Linked DNA regions of Homo sapiens: all the other regions are linked to region 3. The links are contacts of gene promoters, found by promoter capture Hi-C in blood cells and fetal thymus (Javierre and others, 2016). All regions are on one chromosome and are shown on one strand. The core of a region is centred on a gene start or on the middle of the fragment in contact, and the rest is flanking DNA. Distances in the headings are between cores, read along the strand shown.

Region 1 (2,710 bases), core at 96-2,595, 380 kb after region 3:
CCAGGCTGGAGTGCAGTGGCGCGATCTCGGCTCACTGCAAGCTCCGCCTCCCGGGTTCACGCCATTCTCCTGCCTCAGCCTCCCGAGTAGCTGGGACTACAGGCACCCGCCACCGTGCCTGGCTAATTTTTTTGTATTTTTAATAGAGACGGGGTTTCACTGTGTTAGCCAGGATGGTCTCGATCTCCTGACCTCGTGATCTGCATGCCTCGGCCTCCCAAAGTGCTGGGATTACAGGCCTGAGCCACAGTGCCCGGCCTCCTCTTTCTTTTTTTGAGACAGAATCTCACTCTGTCACCCAGGCTGGAGTGCAGAGGTGTGGTCTCGGCTCACTGCAACTTCCGCCTCCCAGGCTCAAGCGATTCTCCTGCCTCAGCCTTCCGAGTAGCTGGGACTACAGGCGCGTGCCACCATGCCCAGCTAATTTTTTGGTACTTGTAGTAGAGACAGGGTTTCACCATGTTGGCCAGGCTGGTTTCAAACCCCTAATCTCCAGTGATCTGCCTGCCTTGGCCTCTCAAAGTGCTGGGATTAAAGGCGTGAGCTACCGTGCCAGGCCGTGGAGTAGCTAAACTTATCTTACACTGCTGAGGTCTCTCAAGATGTGTGTAGGGAGAGAGAGTTGGGGGGAGAGAGAGAGACAAAGGAAAAGAGGAAGAGAGAGACAGGGAGAAAGAGAGGAAGAAAGAGAAAGAGAGAAACAGGAAGAGTGAGAGGAGAAAGAGAGGAAGGGGGAGAGAAAGAGAGATGGGGGAGAAAGAGAGAGAGAGAAGGAGACACAGGAGGGGGAGAGAAAGAGGGAGAGAGCAATGAGAGAGATATGAGACAGAGAAGAGAGAGAGAGGAGACACGGAGGAGGGGGACAGAAAGAGGGAGACAGAGAGATGAGAGAGAGAAAAGACACAGATGAGGGGGAGAGAAAGAGGGAGAGAGAGATGAGAGAGAGATTGATAGCACCCAGCTAATCAATCAGTGGCTTTAGTGCCATGAGCTGGAAGGGAGGAATGGATACTGGGGAACAGTTGGTTGACTTTCCCTGGTGGGACAGCCCCTCTTTCTAGAACTACCTTTCCTATGTCCCCTGTGCTTCTCTCCAGTCCATACTCTACATCTCAGCCAGAAAAGAAGAAATTCTAAAACATGTATCTGCCCGTGACATGACCCTCCTTGGCTCAACACTCTTCAGCGGTACCCAGCGCCCTCTGAGTCAACGCCAAGCTTCCTACCATGGCATTGGAGCCGCGCTCTGGGTCCTTTTACTGATGGCTCCCGCCTCAGCCCTTCCACCCCCTCCCATACCCTGCATGCCAGCCCAGGCAGCCCTCCCTCCTCCCACAATATCTCTCATATGCATTCCTGTCCCATGCCTTCTGCTTAAGCTGTTCCCACAGCCCGGAGTCTCCTCCCTGGCTGAGGGAAATCTTGCCGGCTCACATGGCCGTGATCCCCATCATTTCCTGCAGAAAGCTTGCCCAGCTCTCCGACACGGGGACCTTCTGCCCCTCCTGAGCCCTGAGTCCCCTCCATCTTAACTGGGAGGTCACCTGTTTGCGTGGTGTCTGCTCAGCTTGCAGGCAAGGCCACCAACACCCTCCTTTCCTGTCTTTCCTTCCTACCATCCTCTCCTGTCCACCCTCTGCCTCTCCCTCCCTTCTTCTCTTCTTTCCTTCTAGTTACTGAGCCATGCATGTGTTGCATGCAGCAAGGATGAATAAAATAAAATAAACCTACAGCAATCATTCCAGTTACTATGGCCATATAACAAATTATTCTAAAACTCAGTGGCTTCAGACAAGGATCATATCTATTTTACTCAAAAACCTACCATCTGCACAGGCCTTGGTGGAGGCAGCTTATCTGTGTGCCCTTTGGTGATGGCTGGGGCTGTCAAGAAGCTGGGGCAGTGCTTGGGCTGCAAAGACTCAAATGGCTGGAGTCTGGGACCACTGGAGCTCCTTGCCCCCCTTTGCTTATCTCTACACAGCCACAGGGTCGCTAAACTTACCTTACACTGCTGAGGCCTCTTAAGATGTGTGTAGGGAAAGAGAGTTGGGGGGAGAGGGAGAGAGAGAACAGAGAGAGAGAGACACACACAAGAAGAGAGAGAGGAAGAAAGAAGGAGAGAGAGGAAGAGGAAGGGAGAGGAAGAGAGAGAGAAAGAGAAAGAGGGAGAGAGAGAGGAGAGAAAGAGACAAGAAGAGAGGAAGAAAAAAGAGGAAGAGAGGGATAGAGGAAGACAGAAGGAGGGAGAGGGAGAGAGGAAGAGAGAGGAAAGAGAAAGGAAGGGAAAGAGAGATGTGAGAGAGAGGGAGAGAGAGAGAGAAAAGAGGACAGAGGAAGAGAGAGAGGAAGAGAGAGGGAGAGAGAGGGAGAGAAGACAGAGAGGGAGAGAGGAAGAGAAAAGGAGACAGAGAGAGGAGAGATAGAGAAGAACGAGAAAGGAGAGACAGAATGTGAATGAGAATTGGGTGCCATAAACCCTCTGATGGGGAAAGCAAAGGGCATTGTGGGAGAATCCTCTCAGCACCTGGGACAGCACCCAGTGCTGATCAGGAACATGTTAACAACCAGGAAAATGGTAAAGGCGTGGACAGCCCACCTGGAGTCCAAACAGATGTTCTAACTCCCTTGGGTGTGTCTGGGAATCAGGTAGGAGATCCTCAGAGGAGGAATATGCATGCATTGTTCTCTTTATAATAACCATATTAAC
Region 2 (2,700 bases), core at 1-2,500, 330 kb after region 3:
TTTTCGTGGCTCCCTCTGGAGTCCCGACTTGCTGGGACACCGTGGCTGGGGTAGGTGCGGCTGACGGCTGTTTCCCACCCCCAGGCCTGCATTGATGAGAACCTGGAGGTGGTGCGCTTCTTGGTGGAGCAGGGCGCCACTGTGAACCAGGCAGACAACGAGGGCTGGACGCCACTGCACGTGGCCGCCTCCTGTGGCTACCTAGATATCGCCAGGTGAGGCAAGGGAGGGCCGGGCAGGACCTGGTCGGGGTGGGGGCCTGGACCCTCAGCCCTGACCAGCCCCCACCCCCAGGTACCTCCTGAGCCACGGGGCCAACATCGCCGCCGTCAACAGTGACGGGGACCTGCCCCTGGACCTGGCCGAGTCGGACGCCATGGAGGGGCTGCTGAAGGCGGAGATCGCCCGCCGAGGTGGGCTCTGGTGTGCTGTGTGTGGGGTGGGGGACACCTCCTCACCCGTGGTCTCCAGGCTGAGAGCTTTAGAGGCGGCCTGGGCACCGAGGCTGACCCTGCTTCCTAGGATTGTCTTTCTTTGTGCCTCAGTTTCCTCACCTGTGAAATGGGGGTGTAGGGGCCTGCCTCCAGGATTGCTTGGAGCCCAGCACACGCACAGGATGAGAACTCAAACCCCTACCAACTGGGACTGTCAATCCCCCTGAGTAACTGAGGGGATTGGAATGCCGGGGCGGGGTGGGTGGGTGGAGGGACTCACCCAGGAGTGCGTTAGGTAGGATTGCTGGAACCCTGCCGCAGGTCTTTCTGGGAGGGGATGCGTTTACTTGGGGGGGAGTAGGGGCATGCAGGGGTTGCCAGGGACTGGTCTCCCTGTCCTCTGAGACTCATCGTACCCCAGGAGCCTTCATATGGGGTCCAGGAGCCCCTGAAACTGTGTCTGGCCAGGTTCATTTTTCTAGGGAAGGGGTGTTGCTTCTAGCAGGTGTGTGATGGCCACACAGGATCCCTGGGTCCCCAGCATGTCTTCTAAAGTCCTGGGCTTGCCTCCCAGCTCTGCCTGTGACTGGTGACTCCAGGCACGTCCCTGAAGCTTGCTTCCCTGATTTCCTAAAACAGGACCACTGGTGCCGCTTCATGGGGTGGTTGTCAGGGTCTGGCTGGGTTGGAGTGGAAGGGTGTGAGCATGGTTCCCGGCAGACTCCAGGGGACCGTGTGGAAGGAAAGGGAGACTGACGAGGAAATGAGATACCGGCAGCCTCCGAGACTTCTGACGCGGCTGTCCTGACGGGGCCGCTGGCCAGGCTGAAAGGATAGGATTCCGCGTGGGTTCAGGGGTCCACGAGAGCCATGCGGGAGGACTAGCTAGTGGGACACGTGACGGCGGAGATCTGAGGTTCGGGAGCCCCTCTTTGGTTGAAATGGGGAGTGGGTCAAATCAGCCCTGGACCTGGATTCTGTCTCCTTCCTCCTCCAACTTTTTATTTTGGGAAAGCTTCAGATTTACAGAAAAGTTGAAGCAATAGCATGTGACTACCCATATGACTTTCACTAAGATTCGCCAGTGCTTTTTCTTTTTTGTTTTTGTTTTTTAGACAGCTTTTTGAGATGTAATTCACCTACCCTACAATTCACCCAAAGTGCACACTTCAGTGCTTTTTAGTCTATTCACGGGGTCGGGCATTTATGACCACATTGGTTGTAGAACATTTTCATCATCCCCCAACGAAACCCTGCAACCGCTTAGCCATCACCCCCAACCATGCACCCCCCCCTCCCCCCCACCCCACGAAGCCCTCTCTGCCTTCTGTCTGTGGATTTGCTGTTTTGTACACTTCACATAAAGGGAATCATACAGTATAGAATCATCAGCTTTTAACTTTTTGATAGATTTGTGTTCCTTCTCTCTGTCCCTCCCTTGCGATCTCTTCCCAGGTATAGACATAAACACATTTTTTCCTATCCTTTCTCCTCCTGTTTTTTTCCCTCCATCTCTCCCTTCCTTTCTTACCACCCCACCCCTGCCTTTCCATTCCTGAGCCTTTTTTTTTTTTTTGAAACAGAGTTTCACTTTTTGCCCAGGCTGGAGTGCAATGGCATGATTTCGGCTCACTGCAACCTCCACCTCCTGGGTTCAAGCGATTCTCCTGCCTCAGCTTCTGGGTAGCTGAGATTACAGGCGTGAGCCAGCATGCCCAGCTAATTTTGCATTTTTAATAGAGATGGGGTTTCACCATGTTGACCAGGCTGGTCTCCAACTCCTGACCTCAGGCGATCTGCTGGCCTCGGCCTCGCAAAGTGTTGGGATTACAGGCGTGAGCCCGGCCATTCTGAGACTGTGTTGCAGGCATTGTACATCTTCGCCTGATGCACAGCAGGTATCTCCTGCCACAAGGAAAACCTCCTGCAGAACCACAGTAGGGATGCAACACGCTACCCCCTGTGTTGACCTTGATGCTACACTCTCACCCACCGCACCAACCTTGATGCTACACTCTCACCCACCGCACCAACCTTGATGCTACACTCTCACCCACCGCACCAACCTTGATGCTACACTCTCACCCACCGCACCAACCTTGATGCTACACTCTCACCCACCGCACCAACCTTGATGCTACACTCTCACCCACTGCACCAACCTTGATGCTACACTGTTGCCTGCGTTTCTCCTTGACATTCTTTGTAGCCTCTCCCGCTCTGGTTCAGGGCCCAGCTAGGGATCCAGATCTGGGTGATTTAGGCT
Region 3 (2,700 bases), core at 12-2,511:
ACCACCACCACCAACTCCCACCTCTCTTCTGCATCACCTTTTCTCTCTCTTTTGAGACAGGGTCTCACTCTGTCAACTCAGGCTGGAGTGCGGTGGTGAAATCACAGCTCCCAGCAGCCTTGATCTCTGGGACTCAAGTTATCCTCCCACCTCAGCGTCCTGAGTACCTGGGACTATAGGTGCGCACGACCACGCCGGGCTAATTTTTTTTTTTTTTTTTTTTGTAAAGACACGGTTTTGCTGTGTTGGCGAGGCTGGCTGGTCTCCTGCTTGAGCAATTTGCCCACCTTGGCCTCCCAGAGTGCTGGGATTTACAGGCGTGAGCCGCCGCACCCGGACGACCCTTTCTCAGCCTGTATCTCCCTTCTGAAATAGCAGCAGCAGCAAACACTTTCATATTTCACCTGCAATATGCCAGGCACTGTTCTAAGCTCTTTACACATATTCCCTCAGTTCATCCTCCTGACCACTCAGAGATAACCATCCTTATCCCCATTTTACAGATGGGGGACTTGGGGCACAGGGAGCTTAGATAAGAGCCTGTCAGTGTCAGGCAGCTGGCAGGAGGTCCAGTCGGCAGGGGAACCACCCTGCTGTGGTTGTGGTTCAGCTGTGGACAGAGACCCTTCAAACCCGACGCCGTAACAGTGGTGTGTGTGTGCGTGTGCATGCCAGGGAGAGAGAGAGAGAGAGGGAGAGAGAGGGAGGGAGGGAGGGCACCTAAGATCCCTTGATTATCAGATCTAACTAAGGGAGAGAAATTGGCATTTCGGGGCACTGAGGACCATAGGGGTGTAAGTCAGTGGTTCTCCACGGGGGCAGCTGTGGCCTCCTCCCACCAGGGGAACATTTGGCAATGCCTGGAAACATCTTACATTGTCACAACTCGGGGGAATGTGGTGCTGCTGGCATGGAGAGGGCGCTGCTAAACATCCTACAGCGCTCAGGACAGGCGCTCACCACAAAGCAGCATCGGTCCCCGAATGTCAGTGTTGAAAAACCGTGCACTGCCTCTTCCCACTTGCCTGGTCTATAAACTCAAATTCTCAACTTCTCTCTCTCCTCCTCCCTCCCTCTCCTCCCCCTCCTCCTCCTCCCCTTCTTTTCTCCCTCCTTCCCCGTCTCCCTGACTCCTCCTTTCCCACCCACCCCTCATCTGTCTCGCTTCCTTCCCTCCCTCCGCGGTCCCCACTCCCCTCGCCACCCTCCCCTCCCCTTCGCGCGCCTCCCTCCAGCTGCCTCCCCTGCCCTCTCCTCTTCGCCGCCCCCGTTTCTTCTCCTTACATCGCGCCTCGCCTCGCTCCTCGTCCTAATGTCTGCACACCCCTCTGGTGTCTGTCGACCCTCCCAATCGCTTCTCCCGCATTCATCTCTCGCCTGATCCCGGTTCTGTCCGCCCATGCTCATTTCTCTCCCCCAGCCGTGCCCGGGCGCGTTTCCATTACTCTCCCATCGTCGCCCACCGCGCGTGGGGCGGCCAACTTGGGCCCACGCAGCTCAGCTCCCTCCGCCCTTCCTGCCTCCTGGCGCCTGTTGCTCCCCACACTCTGCCGCCCCCCGCCCGCCCTCCCCAGCCTCTCTGCCCACCCATCTCTACGTTTCTCACCCTCTGACCGTTTCTCTCCCGCCCAGCGCTCCAACCTCTGCTCTCGTTCTCCCCGCAGCCTGGCGGCCCAGTGCGACCCCCTGCAAGCCCCATGCCGGCCCTCCTGCTCCTCGTACTCCTGGCCTCTAGCGCCGGCCAGGCCAGGGCGCGCCCGTCCAACGCCACGAGCGCCGAGCCCGCGGGCCCGCTGCCCGCCCTGCTGGCGCACCTGCGGCGCCTGACCGGGGCGCTGACGGGCGGCGGGGGCGCGGCGAGCCCAGGCGCCAACGGCACCAGGACCGGCCCCGCGGGCGGGGCGGGCGCGGCGGCCCGGGCGCCCCCTCCCGCCGAGCTCTGCCACGGCTACTACGATGTCATGGGCCAGTACGACGCCACCTTCAACTGCAGCACCGGCTCCTACCGCTTCTGCTGTGGCACCTGCCACTACCGCTTCTGCTGTGAGCACCGTCACATGCGCCTGGCGCAGGCCTCCTGCTCCAACTACGACACGCCGCGCTGGGCCACCACGCCGCCGCCGCTAGCTGGGGGCGCCGGGGGCGCTGGGGGTGCGGGCGGGGGGCCAGGGCCCGGCCAGGCCGGGTGGTTGGAAGGGGGCCGGACTGGGGGTGCCGGGGGCCGCGGGGGCGAGGGCCCCGGGGGCAGCACAGCCTACGTCGTGTGCGGGGTCATCAGCTTCGCCCTGGCCGTGGGCGTCGGCGCCAAAGTGGCCTTCAGCAAGGCGTCCCGTGCGCCCCGGGCGCACCGGGATATCAACGTGCCCAGGTGCGTGTGCTCTCGGGCGGGAGGACTGCGAGCCTGGGGCGGGGCCCAGCAAGGGAGGTGGAGCCATCCGAGGAGGAGGGGCTGCAGGGATAGGGCGTGGTGGTCAGAGACCCAGGTGGCGGCCGCCGGCGTAGCTGAAGGTGGGCAGGGGCTGAGAAAGTCGCGCCAGAGCCGGCCCGGCTGTTGCGGAGTGATGCAGGGAGAGGGAGAAGCCCAGACTCTCATTCATTCGACACATATTTCTTGAGCACCTTCTGTGGGCCAGGAGCTGGGGATACACCAGTGAACAAAACAAGGTCTCTGCCCTGGTGGAAAAGCCTGACTTCCAAATC
Region 4 (2,700 bases), core at 54-2,553, 360 kb after region 3:
ATGAGGCTGTGACTGGGTCGAGGGGCAGGTTTCTGAGCCCCCTGGTAGCCGGGTAGAGGACAGCAGTTGGCACACCATCTGCTAAGCACGGAGGCTGTTTATAGGCTGGGCCGCATATTACAATGCTCAGGGCTCCACTGCACCCTCTCGGGGGTCTGCTAGCGCTTTCCGTAGACTGTCTCCACGCCCTCCCCACTCCCAGCCAGTCCAGATCCTCTCCGGAGGGACTGCAGCAAGGATCGTTAAGTCTGTCCACCGGGATGGGGGAAGACCAGGGCCGGAGCAGATTGGCCATCCTTCAGAAGATCGACTTCCGCTATTGGGGAGAGTCTGAGGAGTCCGTTCTCCCACGGGGCCTCGTCACTCTTTGCGAAGGGCGCCTGGCAGGTCAAATGACCTCCATTTCCACCTCGCCTTCCACCTTCTTCTTTTGCTTCTCCATCACTGCCTCCAGCTCTGACACTTTCTCTTTGTCCTGGAGGGCGGGGTGGAAATCGCTTTGTCCTGGCGTCCGAGCCCTCGTCATCCCAACCCTACCCAGACCCAGGGACCAGCGGTCCGGCTCACCTCCAGCAGCGAGCGCTGCACGGTGACCTGGCTGTACACACGTGCCCCCTCCTCGGGGCTCACCGCCCGCAGCTCCTCCTTCTGCAGCGAGAAAAGCTGCGCCCCGGTCAGCACACCCAGCGCGTCCACGGTCCTGAGCGAGGGCAGCCCGGGCGCGGTCAGGCCGGTCGGCGGATGCCCCAGCCCGGACAATCATGTCACGCCCACCCGGCGATGGTCCAATCAGAACAGCATTCTAGCTCTAGCGGGGGCAGGCCCGACACCTCCTGAACCCCACCCACCAATCACAATGTTGCCACCCGGGGGGCGTGGCCGCATCCTGCTTTCAAAGGGTACGGGATTTCCCTAAGGAATCCAGTCGGAGTCTGAAAAAACATGGCAATCACAGCCTGCCATTGGGTGTTGCTACCAGACAGACCCTCACTTCGGGCTAATCCCGGCTCCCTGTGGTCTCCACGACTGCCGCCCCCCGACTCCCGGCCGATCGGAACGCTCCGCTCCCAGCGTCCGTATCAACCCGCGCCGAGAGGGCCCCGGCCCCACTCACCCGGAGCTAAAGCCCTTGGCCTGCAGCCAGGCGCGGACCTCGGAGGCGTCCGAGCCCGGGCTGAGCTGCGGTTCCGGGGCGCGGGGCCCTGGGACTGCGCGGCTCGGTCCCGAGCGGCCCTGGGCCAGGCGCGCCTGCAGTTCCTCGTTGACGATGAGCATCTGGGAGAATTTCTCTGCAGGCGGGAAACCGGGAGGTAGGGAGTGCGGGCTCAGGGCGAGGGGTCCTGGGGCCAGAGGGCGGGGCGGGGGGGCGCTCCAGCGTCCCCAGAATGGGACGGGAGTCCCTTTGCTCTTTCTGAGCCCCCGTTTCTCTGCCTGGAAAGCAAGGATAAGGACCGCTCCCCGCAGCCGGCGTCCCCACCACTCACCCTTCTCGCTGGGGTCCAAGCCGTTGAGGCTATCGCAGCTGTCCCAGCGGGGCCTGTCCCAGCGGGGCCGAGCCAGAGCTGGAGGTGGGGCCGGGGCTGGGGCTGGTGGTGGAGGAGGAGTGCTGTTCTGAAAGGAAGGAGAGGAGAGTACCTGGGTTAGGGAGAGGACTCAGAGTCCCAGCCTCTCCCCTTTCTGGAGATGCATTTCTGAACCCCCAGTCACCACCTGCTCCAGCACTCTTGACAGCTGATCCCCACGCCCCTTGTTCCCAGGATCTGGTCCCAGCCTCTCCACCCTCAAGATCCCAGCGTCTGCGCTGGCTCACCAGGCTGCGGGCAGGGCTTTGGCTGTGGTGCAGCCGGGGTCCGGGGTAGGGTGTCAGGATGTTGTAGGGCACATATCCCTCCTGCCCCGCTGGGTCCCGAACCTTCCACCACTTACGACTGTCATCCAGGACCTGGGTGTGGTAAAGAACAGAGGGTTCAGAGCCTGTCTGCAGCTAGGGCTGGCTAATTCCTGCCCCTCAGCCTCCCGCTCCTCTAACCTCCAGTACGTCCCGCTGCTTGACCGACAGCTCACTGCTGTTGCGGGCCTGGAAGTCATAATTACACAGGACCCATTTTCCTGCTGTCTCTGACTCCAGCTGAGGCTCAGATTCTGGCTCCAAGTCTCGGTGACTGAGGAGAAGCGGGAGGGTTGGAGATAAGGAGGCAGCCAGCCCCATTGCTCTGGGCTGCAGGGTGCTGGTGTGAGCTGGGGTTAGAGCCAAGCTGGGGGCACAGCAGGGGCCGGGTTAATACTGTTAATAGAAATTTGAAACAAGAATAACAGACTGAATATATTTGCTCCCTCCGTTGCTTGGCATTGTGCTGTAGGCATATGTAGTGGGTACTATCCCACCATCGATTCCATTTTACAGAGGAGAATGAGGCTCAGAGCGAGAAAATGACTTGCCCACATCACACAGCTAGAAACAGCTGTCATTTATTGAGCATCTAATAGGCACTGGGCTTTATATATCATAACTCATAAGCATAATAAAAACACTAGCTAGGCCGGGCGCGGTGGCTCACGCCTGTAATCCCAGCGCTTTGGGAGGCTGAGGCGGGCAGATCATGAGGTCAAGAGATCAAGACCATCCTGGCCAACATGGTGAAACCCTGTCTCTACTAAAAAATACCCAAATTAGCTGGGCGTGGTGGCACGCGCCTGTAG

What was found. The method cuts DNA at HindIII sites, captures the fragments that hold promoters and counts their contacts. A CHiCAGO score of 5 or more calls a contact.
Region 1: a fragment that was not itself captured here is called in contact with the fragment with the promoter of SHISA7 in region 3 in 2 of 17 cell types (total CD8 T cells and activated CD4 T cells); the score reaches 6.1 in total CD8 T cells.
Region 2: a contact is called between a fragment that was not itself captured here and the fragment with the promoter of SHISA7 in region 3, in 10 of 17 cell types (erythroblasts, naive CD8 T cells, non-activated CD4 T cells and 7 more). The highest score is 8.6, in erythroblasts.
Region 4: a fragment that was not itself captured here is called in contact with the fragment with the promoter of SHISA7 in region 3 in 6 of 17 cell types (activated CD4 T cells, fetal thymus, non-activated CD4 T cells and 3 more); the score reaches 7.5 in activated CD4 T cells.

Annotation. Positions count from the first base shown.
Region 1 is chr19:55,066,103-55,068,812 of GRCh38, reverse strand. It overlaps a transcript of RDH13 not described here. Among named protein-coding and RNA genes, the nearest start is that of RDH13, 4.3 kb to the right of the region's middle. RefSeq lists a silencer at 2,455-2,655. The HindIII fragment of the contact is 249 bases long and covers 1,221-1,469 here.
Region 2 is chr19:55,110,180-55,112,879 of GRCh38, reverse strand. PPP1R12C (protein phosphatase 1 regulatory subunit 12C) reads left to right here. Exons shown (of 22, transcript NM_017607.4): 2 at 85-215; 3 at 295-413. Among named protein-coding and RNA genes, the nearest start is that of PPP1R12C, 6.1 kb to the left of the region's middle. The HindIII fragment of the contact is 402 bases long and covers 1,050-1,451 here.
Region 3 is chr19:55,441,861-55,444,560 of GRCh38, reverse strand. SHISA7 (shisa family member 7) reads left to right here and starts at 1,261. Exons shown (of 4, transcript NM_001145176.2): 1 at 1,261-2,368. The coding sequence starts at 1,698. RefSeq lists a silencer at 2,358-2,447 and an enhancer at 1,941-2,569. The HindIII fragment of the contact is 48,275 bases long and covers 1-2,700 here.
Region 4 is chr19:55,085,303-55,088,002 of GRCh38, reverse strand. EPS8L1 (EPS8 signaling adaptor L1) reads right to left here. Exons shown (of 20, transcript NM_133180.3): 15 at 2,030-2,162; 16 at 1,811-1,942; 17 at 1,485-1,611; 18 at 1,115-1,289; 19 at 568-700; 20 at 80-475. The coding sequence ends at 389. Among named protein-coding and RNA genes, the nearest start is that of EPS8L1, 11 kb to the right of the region's middle. The HindIII fragment of the contact is 4,773 bases long and covers 1-2,700 here.